Regions from separate parts of the Homo sapiens genome. Here regions 2 and 3 are each linked to region 1. Evidence: promoter capture Hi-C in 16 types of primary human blood cells and fetal thymus (Javierre and others, 2016). All regions are on one chromosome and are shown on one strand. The core of a region is centred on a gene start or on the middle of the fragment in contact, and the rest is flanking DNA. Distances in the headings are between cores, read along the strand shown. Region 1 holds the start of ZNF295-AS1 (ZNF295 antisense RNA 1). Region 2 has its middle 40 kb from the start of RSPH1. Region 3 has its middle 37 kb from the start of PCSEAT.

The links. Contacts are between HindIII fragments. The CHiCAGO score rates a contact against its expected background, and 5 or more counts as called.
Region 2: a fragment that was not itself captured here is called in contact with the fragment with the promoter of ZNF295-AS1 in region 1 in 1 of 17 cell types (M0 macrophages); the score reaches 6.1 in M0 macrophages.
Region 3: a fragment that was not itself captured here is called in contact with the fragment with the promoter of ZNF295-AS1 in region 1 in 1 of 17 cell types (monocytes); the score reaches 5.0 in monocytes.

The regions. Positions count from the first base shown.
Region 1 is chr21:42,007,301-42,011,183 of GRCh38, forward strand. ZNF295-AS1 (ZNF295 antisense RNA 1) reads left to right here and starts at 1,894. Exons shown (of 2, transcript NR_119384.1): 1 at 1,894-2,284. It overlaps ZBTB21 (zinc finger and BTB domain containing 21), which reads right to left and starts at 3,060. Exons shown (of 3, transcript NM_001098402.2): 1 at 2,952-3,060. RefSeq lists silencers at 2,233-2,342, 2,383-2,692, 3,133-3,872. The HindIII fragment of the contact is 6,657 bases long and covers 1,631-3,883 here.
Region 2 is chr21:42,454,291-42,458,173 of GRCh38, forward strand. No RefSeq gene overlaps it. Among named protein-coding and RNA genes, the nearest start is that of RSPH1, 40 kb to the right of the region's middle. The HindIII fragment of the contact is 1,374 bases long and covers 947-2,320 here.
Region 3 is chr21:41,615,401-41,619,283 of GRCh38, forward strand. No RefSeq gene overlaps it. Among named protein-coding and RNA genes, the nearest start is that of PCSEAT, 37 kb to the left of the region's middle. The HindIII fragment of the contact is 413 bases long and covers 1,557-1,969 here.

The DNA.
Region 1 (3,883 bases), core at 644-3,143:
CTGAAGTAAAGCGTATTACATCACTGCCCTGCTTTGGAGTACTGTACTGATTTTTCTATTCCTAAAGAAAATCCAAACTACAGACTGGCATACAAGACTTTTCATACTCTGGTTACAATTCATCTCTCCACCCTTATTGGACACTACTTACCATCTACTCTACAAACTTGCATATCCAGCCTCTGCCACCCAAAATCTCTCTCTTCCCTCTCCTTTACTTGGCTAACTTCTTTCGAAAGATCCAGTTGAAATGTCACCGACTCTACAAAGCTTTTGTAATTTGCCCCTAGCCAGCAGCTCAGTCATCTAAACTACCACAATACTTCATCTCTCTGTAATAACACCACAACTTCTTCAATTAATCTTCTTTTACATGTGTCTCCCCCAAGGGACTCCCTAAAGAAAGAACCCTTGTTTGCATGCACGTATCCCTGATGCCCAGCACAAGGCCTGGCAAGCTAGGTACAGGGCAAAGAGAGAAATCATCAAACTTGAGGCTCAAGACCTGGACTGGCTCACCTTTATTTCTCCAGCATCCGTTACAGAGCCCCAAAACGTGGCAGTATTCTTTGCTTTTTCTATTAGACCTTGTGACTTTAATCACTACTGGACGATGATTCCCAAATCTGTATCTCTGTTTAGACTCTTGAGGCTCCAGCCTCTCAGGTACCTACTGAACGGTTCCATCACAGTATATCCTCAGGTCCAGCATGGTACTTAAACTCCACAACTCTCGTCCCTGCTCCCACATCTGTTTGTCCTCACATATTCCCGATTTACTTTGGTGTGTTGCCAGACCCTAAAATTTCTTCTCTTTCCCTTATAGCCTATCACTGTGACCTGGTCAAACCTAGCTCTTACATAGCTTATAATCTGCTCTCTCTACTTCCATTGGCTTTGCGGACAACTAAAACTGTCCCTTCGGCTGGGCGCAGTGGCTCATGCCTGTAATCCCAGCACTTTGGGAGACCAAGTGGGGTGGATCACGAGGTCAGGAGATCTCAAGGCCATCCTGGTCAACAGGATGAAACCCCGTCTCTACAAAAAAAAAAAAAAAAAAAAAAAAAATTAGCTGGGCGATGTGGCGGAAGCCTGTAATCCCGGCTACTCAGGAGGCTGAGGCAGGAGAATCGCTTGAACCAGGGAGGCGGAGGTTGCAAAACCAGGGAGGCGGAGGTTGCAGTGAGCCAAGATCACGCCATTGTACTCCAGCCTGGGGCAACAAGAGTGAAACTCTGTCAAAAAAAAAAAAAAAAAAAAAAGAAAAAAAGAAAAGAAAAGAAAAAATTGTCCCTTTAATTATCTCATTTCCATCGAGAGACCTTCTTAACTTAACCCCAATTTTGTTATTTACAATTTTTCCTTCAGAGTGTACACATCTAATATTCAACAGTGTAAGTTCCTCGAGGGCAGGGGTTATATCTTCTTCAACTTCTATTTCAACAGAATGAAGCACATTATACTTTCAATAAAGTGTTAAAAAGGAAAAATAAACAAAAAGTTACTTTTAAGTAAACCAGCACTTCAAATTTTGACTTTCTTTTTAACATCAATATTTAGGGGTGCTTAAATTTAAACTTAATGACTACTAGTCCTTAGAGATCATCATTTACTCCAAGTACACGAGGAAAGCTTTAAAAGATAATTTTCCATGAGAAATCTTTCTAAAATGGATTAACCCACTTTCTTGTCTTCTTAAACAAGGTATGAGGACCGTAATGTAAGCTGCTTAATTGAGGACTCAGGGTCATCGTGTGAACAATCGCTGGACTATTTTGTAACACACGCGTGCCCTCGGAGGCTCGGTGCCAGGGCTGTGAGCGCTTGCACGAAAGGAAAAACCCCAGGCCGTGTGAAGTCTAACTTTCCCCGTCCTCTCGGTCAGGCAATCCCACCGGGGCACCTGTCTAAAAACACCCCGCCTCCGAACGCGCGCTCTTGCGGAATTCTCCCGAACCGCAGAGCCCTCGTGGCTGGGACCGCATAGCAACCGGGGGCAGAGTGCGAGCCCCCAGCGGTGTGCTGGGATGGAAAAGCAGGAGCCGCTGAGGATGGACTACGGGGCGTGTTCCCGAAAAGCCGGGAAGAGATGTGGCGGGGCTGCCGCGGGCGTCTCTAAGGCCGGCACGGGTGGCGTCTTGACTCCCTGCCCCTCCAGCCGCGGACCTCGGACGGGGGGAAGGGGGCTCCTCCAAGCGGGGAGACGGTCGCCGGCCGAGCAGCAGGGCTCCTGGCCGGCGGAGGGTGCTATGCTCTGCGGGACCGCCGGGAAGTCCCAGACAAGGTCTGCGGGGGCTCTGGAGGAAAAAAAACGCGCTGTGAGGTCCAGGCGTCCGCGGGAGGGGCCGGGGGCGGGGAGGGAGCGTCCAGCGGGCACCGAGCGGTCACGCTCCGGCCACCGGGCCGAGGACGGGGCGGCGGGGCTAGGTCCCGGACCGTGAAGGGAGCGGCGGGTCGCGGCAGGTGCGGGGTCCCCAAGGCCGCCGGCCAGCTTCCGCGCACACCCCGCGGCCCGGGCCGCCGGCCCCCAACCCCTGCCCGGAACAGGAGAACGCGCCCTTCTCCACGAGGCGTTTCAACCGCTCCGCGCGAGGGGCGCGCGCCTGGGCCAGGCGTGTCCCCTACCCCAGGGGCAGCTCGGCCAGGGTGAAGAGTGAAGCCCGTGAGGGAATGGAGCATGCGCATTCGCGAGGGCGAGGCCAAGTGCTGGCAGGGAGCGTGCGCAGTGTGAAGGTACAATCGGCTACGTGGGAACCCGGGACATGCTCGGTGAGCGCCCAGGTCCCGCGCACGCGCAGAAGCGCTCGGAGCCCGCAACCCGCTGGTGGAGAAAAAAGAGGAGAGAAATCACCTCAGAGTTACGTCAGGAAAGGCCGCGTTTTGCGGGGAGGCTGTAGCCTCCCAAGGAGCCCCGCAGTTCTCCTAGAGCTAGGGGCGTGACAGTTACTCACCGGTCTTCAGTCTCGAGGCAGACGCCGGGCCCCTTTCCGCTCACACTCGGCTCGCGCGCGCCGCAGCCGCCGCTGCCGCTGTGATTCCATCCATCTTGAATTTGACGTCATCCCACACCAGGGATGAGGTCATCGCAGGCATCGCTCGTCACGTGCGCGGCACTCTGATTGGGCGCCGGGCGCCGGAGGGCGGGGCGGGGGGGGGGCCTCGCGGCGCAGGGGGACGGGGGAGGGCGGGCCTGCCCGGAGCCGCGCGCCGAACGGACGCTGCCGCGCTGCAAGCCCGCGCTCTCGGTCCATGAGGGGAGCCTGCGGCGGCCGTTAGGGGAGGCGGCCGGGCTGGGGGCCACGGCGAGGAGGCTGAGCGCCCCGGCCGGGTGGAGTCCGTCGCGGCGAGGAGCGCGCCGATTCTCAGGGGACTTTGCCGCCTGCCGGAGGCGCCCTTGCTGCGGGGTCGCCCCGGGTCATTCGGCCGCGGTCCTGCCCAGCTGGGCCGCCAGTAGTCCCCGCTTCCGGCGCGGCGGGATGCGTGGCGCGAGCGCTTAGTCCCTCGGAGGGGAGGACGCGCTCCCGTTCACCGGTGGACGGCGGGCGACTCCCCGAGCCGACGACCCCGACAGCGACGGGAGCGACGCGCGGCTTTCTGACGGGCGCGGGCGGCGAGCGGGGCCCTGCGGTCCTCGGGTCGGCGGCAGACGCTCCCGGCCCGCGAGGAAAGCCCGCGGGAGGCGGCTCCTGCCGCTCGCTAGTCGCTCAGAGCGCTTCCATTTCCTCCTCCCGACGCAACCTGGCCACCTGGCCCCTGGGCGGGGACCCGGCGGCCGCGGCCAGGGCGTCCGGGCTCGTTCGCCGCGCAGATGGGGGTCGGTCCTGACCCCCGCCGGGGCGTCCACAGCGGCCCGCAGGCAGCCGGAGACTTCGCATAGTGCCCG
Region 2 (3,883 bases), core at 384-2,883, 450 kb after region 1:
TGACGTGGACCCATCGACAGGCCACATGATTTTACAACGGTGGGCCCGAGGCACAGAGACTCTGTCCGAGGTCACCATGAGTAGAGGACGGAACTGAGCTTTAACTCAGATCCCAGTGGAATTCCTTCGGATGAAGCGCTGCTGTTGTTTATCAGCATTGAATAACTAATGTCTCATTTGCTGTTGGAAATTATTTCCTGCAATCTCCTGAATGTGTGTGCAGCCGCTGTCTGCCGGCGCGTGGGGGGTTCTTCATGAAAAGTGAGAGGGGTCCAGCTGTGTGAAAGGCCTTTGCAAATTGCCACAGCAAACTCCCAGAATTATGATGTACTTCTTCCTGTGTGGTTCCAAGTAAATGCCACTTCCGGCTGTCCAGTACCATTTTTTCCTAGGACTTAAGGCCACAAAAATGGATTAAGAAACACACATGTATACATGCAATCTTCCTGGTGAAGTCTTCAAACAAAGTTCTCCAAGAAGTCATTAAAAAATTAATCATCTGGAAATGTCATGTTTCTCCTTCTCTCTCCAAAATGTATTTCTTTCAACCATTAACTCATTCTCTTTCATTGTGTCCCATAGTGAGACAAAACTGTGTTAGGACAATAAACCAAGCAATTTTCCAAAGAAGCTATAGCACGAAAGCAACGTAAATCCCGAAGGAGAAACGCCTGCGAATGAGCTCACCGAAGGCACACTCTCCTCCCAGGAGCCTCCCCGGAGAGGCAGCCCGTTTATTTGAGTTAGTGATTTTGGAAGACACACTGCACTTTCTTTGCCTCCAGCTATCCTTGAGCCATTTTGTTCTCCTTGCGAGGTACTGATAGCACTTATTATCTAGAAAATATAACCAGACTTTGAGGAGAGGCAAGGGGCCCTATAAATTATTTATTTTTTTGCTTCTCAAACTCTGGACCGAGGACCAGGATTACAGGCATTGCCTGGAAGCTTGTTACAAATGCAGGGCCTCAGGCACCCCCGTCTCCGTGTCAGCAGCTGTGTCTTAGCAGGATCCCCAGGGCATTGCCTCACAGTCAGGGTGGTGCAAAAGTCCCGCCTGGCATCCTGGTGAGTGGACCAGGAGGGGGCAGGTGAAGGCGATATTATTGGTCCTTCGACTCCAGACAAGAACTTGCAGCTTAGCCTGAGGAAAGAAATTAGCCCATATGATGAAACACAATCTGATGACGTAAGGATTTTTGTACTTATGCCCACATGTTTAGACATGGCAGCCCGCATCCTCTTAAACCTGAACTTTAACATACCGTGACTTAGAGCCACAAACAACAAAACAGAGGGCAGGAACCAGAGTTCTCCAGAGAAACAGCCAGTGGGAAACAGGACCCACATCCATACGGATACAAACATACAGATACAGGCTGGGAGAGGGAAGGAGAGAGGGGCATTGGCTCACACTCTTACAGAAGCTGAGAAGCCCCACGATCTGCGGGAGCTGTTGGCCTCCCGTCTGGAGGCCAGTAGGCTCGAGACCCAGAGAGAATCGATGTTTTCATTCAAGTCCAATGGCAGGAAAAAGCCAATGCCTCAGTTCAAAGGCCGTCAGACATGAGGAGTTTCCTCTTAGCCTTTTGTTCCATTCAGACCTTCAACTGATTGGATGAGGCCCACCCACCCTGGGGAGGGCCGTTTGCTTGACAGTCTCCTGATTCGAATGTTCGTCTCATTCAGAAACCTCCTCACACACCCCCAGAGTGACACTGGGTCAAAACGTCTTTGCACCCTGCAGTCCAGTCAAATTCACATGTGCAGTTGAGCTTCACATTGGGCATTTCTGCCCTGGTAATGTCCTCCCATTACCAAAAACCTGGTATTTGTCCTTCTTTTCAGTGGGTTTCACAGCCCAGCAGCAGCTGGCCCTCTTGTAGAGCAGCAGTTCCCAGCCTTTTGGCACCAGGGACAAGTGTCGTGGAAGAAAATTTTTCCACAAACCAGGGTGGGGTGGGGGTGGGGAATGGTTTTGAGATGATTCAAGTGCAATTACATTTATTGTGCACACTTTATTTCTATTATCACGTTGTAATATATAATAAAATAATTATACAACTCACCATAATGTAGAATCAGTGGGAGCCCTGAGCTTGTTTTCCTGCAACTAGACAGTCCCATCTGGGGGTGATGGGAGACAGTGACAGATAATCAAGCATTAGATTCTCATAAGGAGCTCACAACCCAGATCCCTCACATGCACAGTTCACAGTAGCGTTCACAGTCCTATGAGACTAATGCCACCACTCATCTGACAGGAAGCGGAGCTCAGGCAGTAATGAGAGCAATGGGGAGTGGCTGTAGATACAGACGAAGCTTCACTTACTCATCCACCCACTGCTCATCTCCTGTTGTGCAGCCTGGTTCCCAACAGGGGTTGGAGGCCTCTGTTACAGAGGACCCTCTCCTGACCGCCAATGAGACCCATGAGCTCACCGTCTTGTCTGCCCTTCCACAGCCCACGCTCCCTCCTCAGCCCACGCCCCCTCCTCAGCCCACACTCCCTCCTCAGGCTCAGCACTGGGAAGAGTTCGTCCTTCCTCACCTCAGCCCTCAAGTGTGGAGTCCGGCGCCTCAGTCATCCACTCAACAGACATTTATGAGGGAATGTTTGGGTGCCATTAACACTGCTGGGAAAGCAGCAGTGGATCAGATACAAGCTCACTCTCAAAGAGCTTATATTTCAGTGGAAGGTGGTGAGCAATGGACTAATAAGCCAGTGAACACGTAACACCTCCTCTGCCAATACGTGAGGTGAAGAGAAGACAGCAGAGAGGGGGACAGAGGCGGAATACAAATGTTATGTTAGCAGTGAACAATCAGTAAGTAAAATAAAAACATCACTTATAGTAGCATAAAGAAACCAGAAGCAAAAGAGGATGTACTGCATGATTCAATTTATATACAACTATTTAGAGACAAATCCAATCTGTGGTGACAGAAAGCAGCACATCAGACGCTTAATGCTGGGAGTAGGGGAATGGATTGCAAATGGGCACGAAGATATTTTCAGGCTGACGGGAATCTGTGTGCTGATTGTAGGGTGGTATATTAGTCTGTTCTCACGCTGCTAATAAAGACATACCTGAGACTGGACAATTTATAAAGGAAAGAGGTTTAATGGACTCACAGTTCCACATGGCTGGGGAGGCCTTATAATTATGGCAGAAGACGAAAGGCACATCATACATGGCAGCAGGCAAGACAGAGAATGAGAGCCAAGCGAAAGCAGAAGCCCCTTATAAAAATCATCAGATCTTGCAAGCCTCATTCACTACCACGAGAACAGTATGGGGAAAACTGCCCCCACAATTCACTTATCTCCCACCAGGTCCCTCCCCAACATGTGGGAATTATGGGAGCTACAATTCAAGATGAGATTTGGGTGGGGACACAGCCAAACCATATTAGGTGGTCACATGGTTGCCTACATTTGTCCAAACTCATTGAACTGTTCACTTAAAATGGATGTTTTACTGTCTACAAAATATACTTCAAGAAAGCTGATATAACATGTTTTTAATTTTTTAATTAGATTGGGATATTAGGCTACTGGTACCAATGCCCAAGGGCTTCCCGTGGGCCCCACGGAGGGCCAGCTCTTGTCACACCCACCGGGTGAGGCACAGAGAGGCCAGTGTTCCCTGAACCCATAGCCAATGGCAACTGATAGAGCACTTTACATATATCTTTATGATGGTTAGGGTATTTGGATGATTCTGTTAATTTCTGAGTTGTCTACATTTTGGGGCGTTGGTTGAAAGCGACACTCTTACCATGTTCGCACAACACAGGAGCCAGATTTCGAAGTGGCACAGGCAGTCTAGGGTTGTAATTACATGAGCTCAGGTTGGTTCCTCCGTCCCTTAGCCACCAA
Region 3 (3,883 bases), core at 513-3,012, 390 kb before region 1:
GCACTCCAGCTCCAGCCTGGGCAACAGGGAAAGACCCTGTCTCAAAGAAAAGAAAAAGGAATATTTGGCTTCTTTCCAGTCTTTCACCATTATTTAAAATGCCACAAGAAATCATCTCATGCACAATATCATTTTGCACATGTGCAAACAGAGCTGGAGGGCAGATTCCCAGAAGCATAAGCGTCTGGTCAAAAGGTGGATATGCATTCATAGCTTTGCTGGAAATTGCCACTTTGCCTCCAATTTGTACTCTGCCAGCAATATGTGAAAGTATCTGTTTCCCCACTGCCTGCCTAAGGGAGTGTATGTCTCACTTTTGTGTTGTTGCCAATCCAGAAGAAGCATATTGCGTAGACTTTCATTTGAGACTCCATCTTTCTGTGTGGTTTGGCAGAAGACTGGGGGAACATTCTTATACTGGCTCTAAATGGAATGCAAGGATACTGCATTAACTTATGACTCAGTAAAGTAATTTATTTTGGGGAGCTAAAATAATCAGTTTGCTGCTTTCTCATGATTTTTAACTTGAAGCAACATGAAACTGGGAAAATAAAAATGGATAGCAAGACTTTTAGACAATGTCTGTTCAGTGATGTTTCAAACATATTTTTGGCAGGAACTAGAAATCAGTCCATGTAGCCCAAGAATGATGCCAATTCCATATTCTGTGTTGCTGATTATAAAGGAAGCAAAATGTTCCAGTAAGCAGATGCAAAAGCAGCCATCAGCTCTCAGATACAGGAGCAGATGAGCTGGAGACGTCCTCACGCGAGCACCGGCCGCTCTTCCCCATGCTGTGGGCAGCTTGCCTGTGGGAAAGGCCAAAGATTCCTTAAAAAGAGATTCAAATCTGCTCAAGTGCCAGGATAAGCATTTAATCAGGAGCCCAGCATCCTGCTCCCCAATGAGTGGGGAAGATTTTCTAGGCCTGGAAAGTTTTTAAGAGGTAATGTGCTATTCTTAGTCATAACAAATGAAAGACAACCCACATGTCCAGCCAGGCAGGATGGCCAATGGGCTGTTCAGTTGCCAGCTGCCTTCCCAGCCCTCCGGGACAGAGTCTCCTGTGATTCTGGCAGCATCCCCAGGACAGAGCCCTCAGGACCAAGGTAGAAAGCGCTTGGGCAGGGCAGTGGTCTCCCAGTCAGCAGGCAGACCTCCTGGGACCACGGGGTCAGATGTGGGGCCTGAATGACTCCTGAGTCACAGCCCTGTCCCCTCTGACATCTCCCACTCCAATGCCATGGTCTGGCCACGTGCCTTGGCTTCCCTTCCTACACTTCAGTGGTCTAAGAGGATAATTCCAAGAGCCCCTAATCTAGCTCTGGTCTGCCCCTCGTCTGAAGACTAGATTCCTCCACTCACTGCCTAATACACCTGGGCTCCATCCTGTGAATGAAGTAAGTTGTTCAGAGCTACAGTCAAAGCTGCGAGCGGGAATTCTCACAGCTCCTGGGATCTCTCACCAGTTCCAACAAACTTCCCACCTCTCCAAGTCAGACTAAGCCTGAGATGTGTAACCTTCAGCTTAGTCTGCCTTAAACCAGCATTTCCCAAGCTTACATTTAGAGATCCTCTTTTTAAAAAAATCCTGTGGACTCCTAAGTTTTTGTTAAAGTATTTTTATTTTACTGCTACTTGTATGTGTGGCAACACTAGAGGACTTACAAATATATTACGTTGATAGCTCTTTTAGTTTTTTGTTGTTTTGTTGTTTCTTTTCTTTTCTTTTCTTTTTAGAGACAGTCTTGCTTGTTGCCCAGGCTGGAGTGCAGTGGTGTGATCACAGCTCATTACAACCTCAATCACCTGGGCTCAAGTAAGCCTCCCATCTCAGCCTCCTGAGTAGCTGGGACCACAGGTGTGTGGCACATTACCCAGCCATGATAGGTCTTATGTAAATAAAAATCAAAGAGATTTATCAATGAAATTAGAATACAACACCAATACATTTCAAATTAACAATGTAAGCTTAATTTGATGGATTATGCTATTTTGTTAAAACTGAGTCACCAATGCTGGGTTCACATTTTTAAAATACCCATATTTGTGTTCTATATTTTACTTATAGATTTAGTCCTTTTGATTTTGAGAATAATGACCCTCTTTTGAGTGATGGTTGTTATTATTTCTCTTTTTTAACAAAGAGCTCAGTTTATCCTCTAATCTATTACTTTGATGATCCCGAGAATATGAGTCCACTCAAAAATATAATAAAAATTAACTTGTAGTAAGAAAATCTACACTGTATTTTTTTTCACTAGCCTTATTGTTAATGAGTTGCCGTGGTTTCTAGGAAGAGAGGCAGAATTTACATATGTCGCCTGTCCCTGTAGGAGAGTGGTTCCCCCTGCTGCAGTGCAGGGCAAGACTGTGGGGTCTGCTTTCCCCAAGCGTCATGTCAGGGTGACCAGGGCTTGTTTGATGTGGTAGGCTACACAGCCTTCATTGATTCATTTGGACCAGATGCCAACATGATCATGGCTACCCAGTGTGTGTTTTCCAGTGTTGATCCAGTGAAAGCAGAGTAATGAGGTTGCACGGTGTCCGACCACTGAAGAAGTTCACCCAACGGGTCCAATCATGTATGTAACACACACTCAAGCACATGCGCAGACACACACACACACACACACACACACAGTGTAAACACAGAATGAAAGCACTCAAGACAGCACCATGAGCCGGGCGCGGTGGCCCACGCCTGTAATCCCAGCATTTTGGGAGGCCAAGGCGGGTGGATCACCTGAGGTCGGGAGTTCAAGATCAGCCTGGCCAACATGGCAAAACCTCGTCTCTATTAAAAATACAAAAATTAGCCTGGCATGGTGGTGGTACACATCTGTAATCCCAACTATTCAAGAGGCTGAGGCAGGAGAATCGCTTGAACCAAGACGGTGGAGGTTGCAGTGAGACGAGATTGCACCACTGTACTCAGCATGGGGAACAGAGTGACTGTCTCAAAAAAAAAAAAAAAAAAAAAGACAACACCATGAGATTAACCTGTTTCCAAAAAAGTGTTAAAAACTTTGCCAATAAAGACCTAAAAGTATGACTCATTTGCTGATGCATATAGGACTAAGGAGCGTGCTCAGGACACGGATGGAGGGCTGAGGGCTGTGTTAGGGCCTCTACGAATGTTCATATCCCTCCTTAATTTGTATGTTGAATCCCTAACCCCCAATGTGATGGTACTTGCAGATAGGGCCTTTGGGGGTGGTTAGGTTTAGATGAGGTCAAGAGAGTAGGACCCTCATAATGGGATTAGTGCCCTTATAAGAAGAGAAAGGTCGATCGATCAATCTGTCTCTGTGTATCTATCTATCTATCTATCTGTCTCCGCAAATGCCCCAGAAAAGGCCTTGTGAGAACCTGTGAGAAGGCGGCCGTCTGAAAACCTGGAAGACAGTCCTCTCCAGAACCCAACCACGCTGGCACCCTGATCTCAGACTTCCAGCCTCCAAAACAAAGAGAAAATAAGTGTCTGTAGTTTCAGCCACCTGGACATGGTATTTTGTTAGAGCAGCCTGAGATGGCTAAGACAGAGTATAAACTGGCGCAGTCTTTGGGAGAGCAGGTTAGCAATGTCTAATAAAATTAAAACTCTTCAGATCCATTGATCAGCTTCTGAAATGTTTCCATCATTACACAAAGACATGAAAGCATGTGTACTGTGTATTTATTTGTGTGTGTGTGTGTGTGTGTGTGTGTGTGTGTACTCTCTATTTATTACAGTATGCTTTAGAAGAGCCAAATTTGAAAACAACCTGAACTTCTATCAGCAAAGTTTTTATCACATAAGCTATGGCACATCTACCAGTGGAATACAGTATATGACTTGAAAGAACAAGTCAAGTATTGTACTTATGTGGAAAGACGTTTG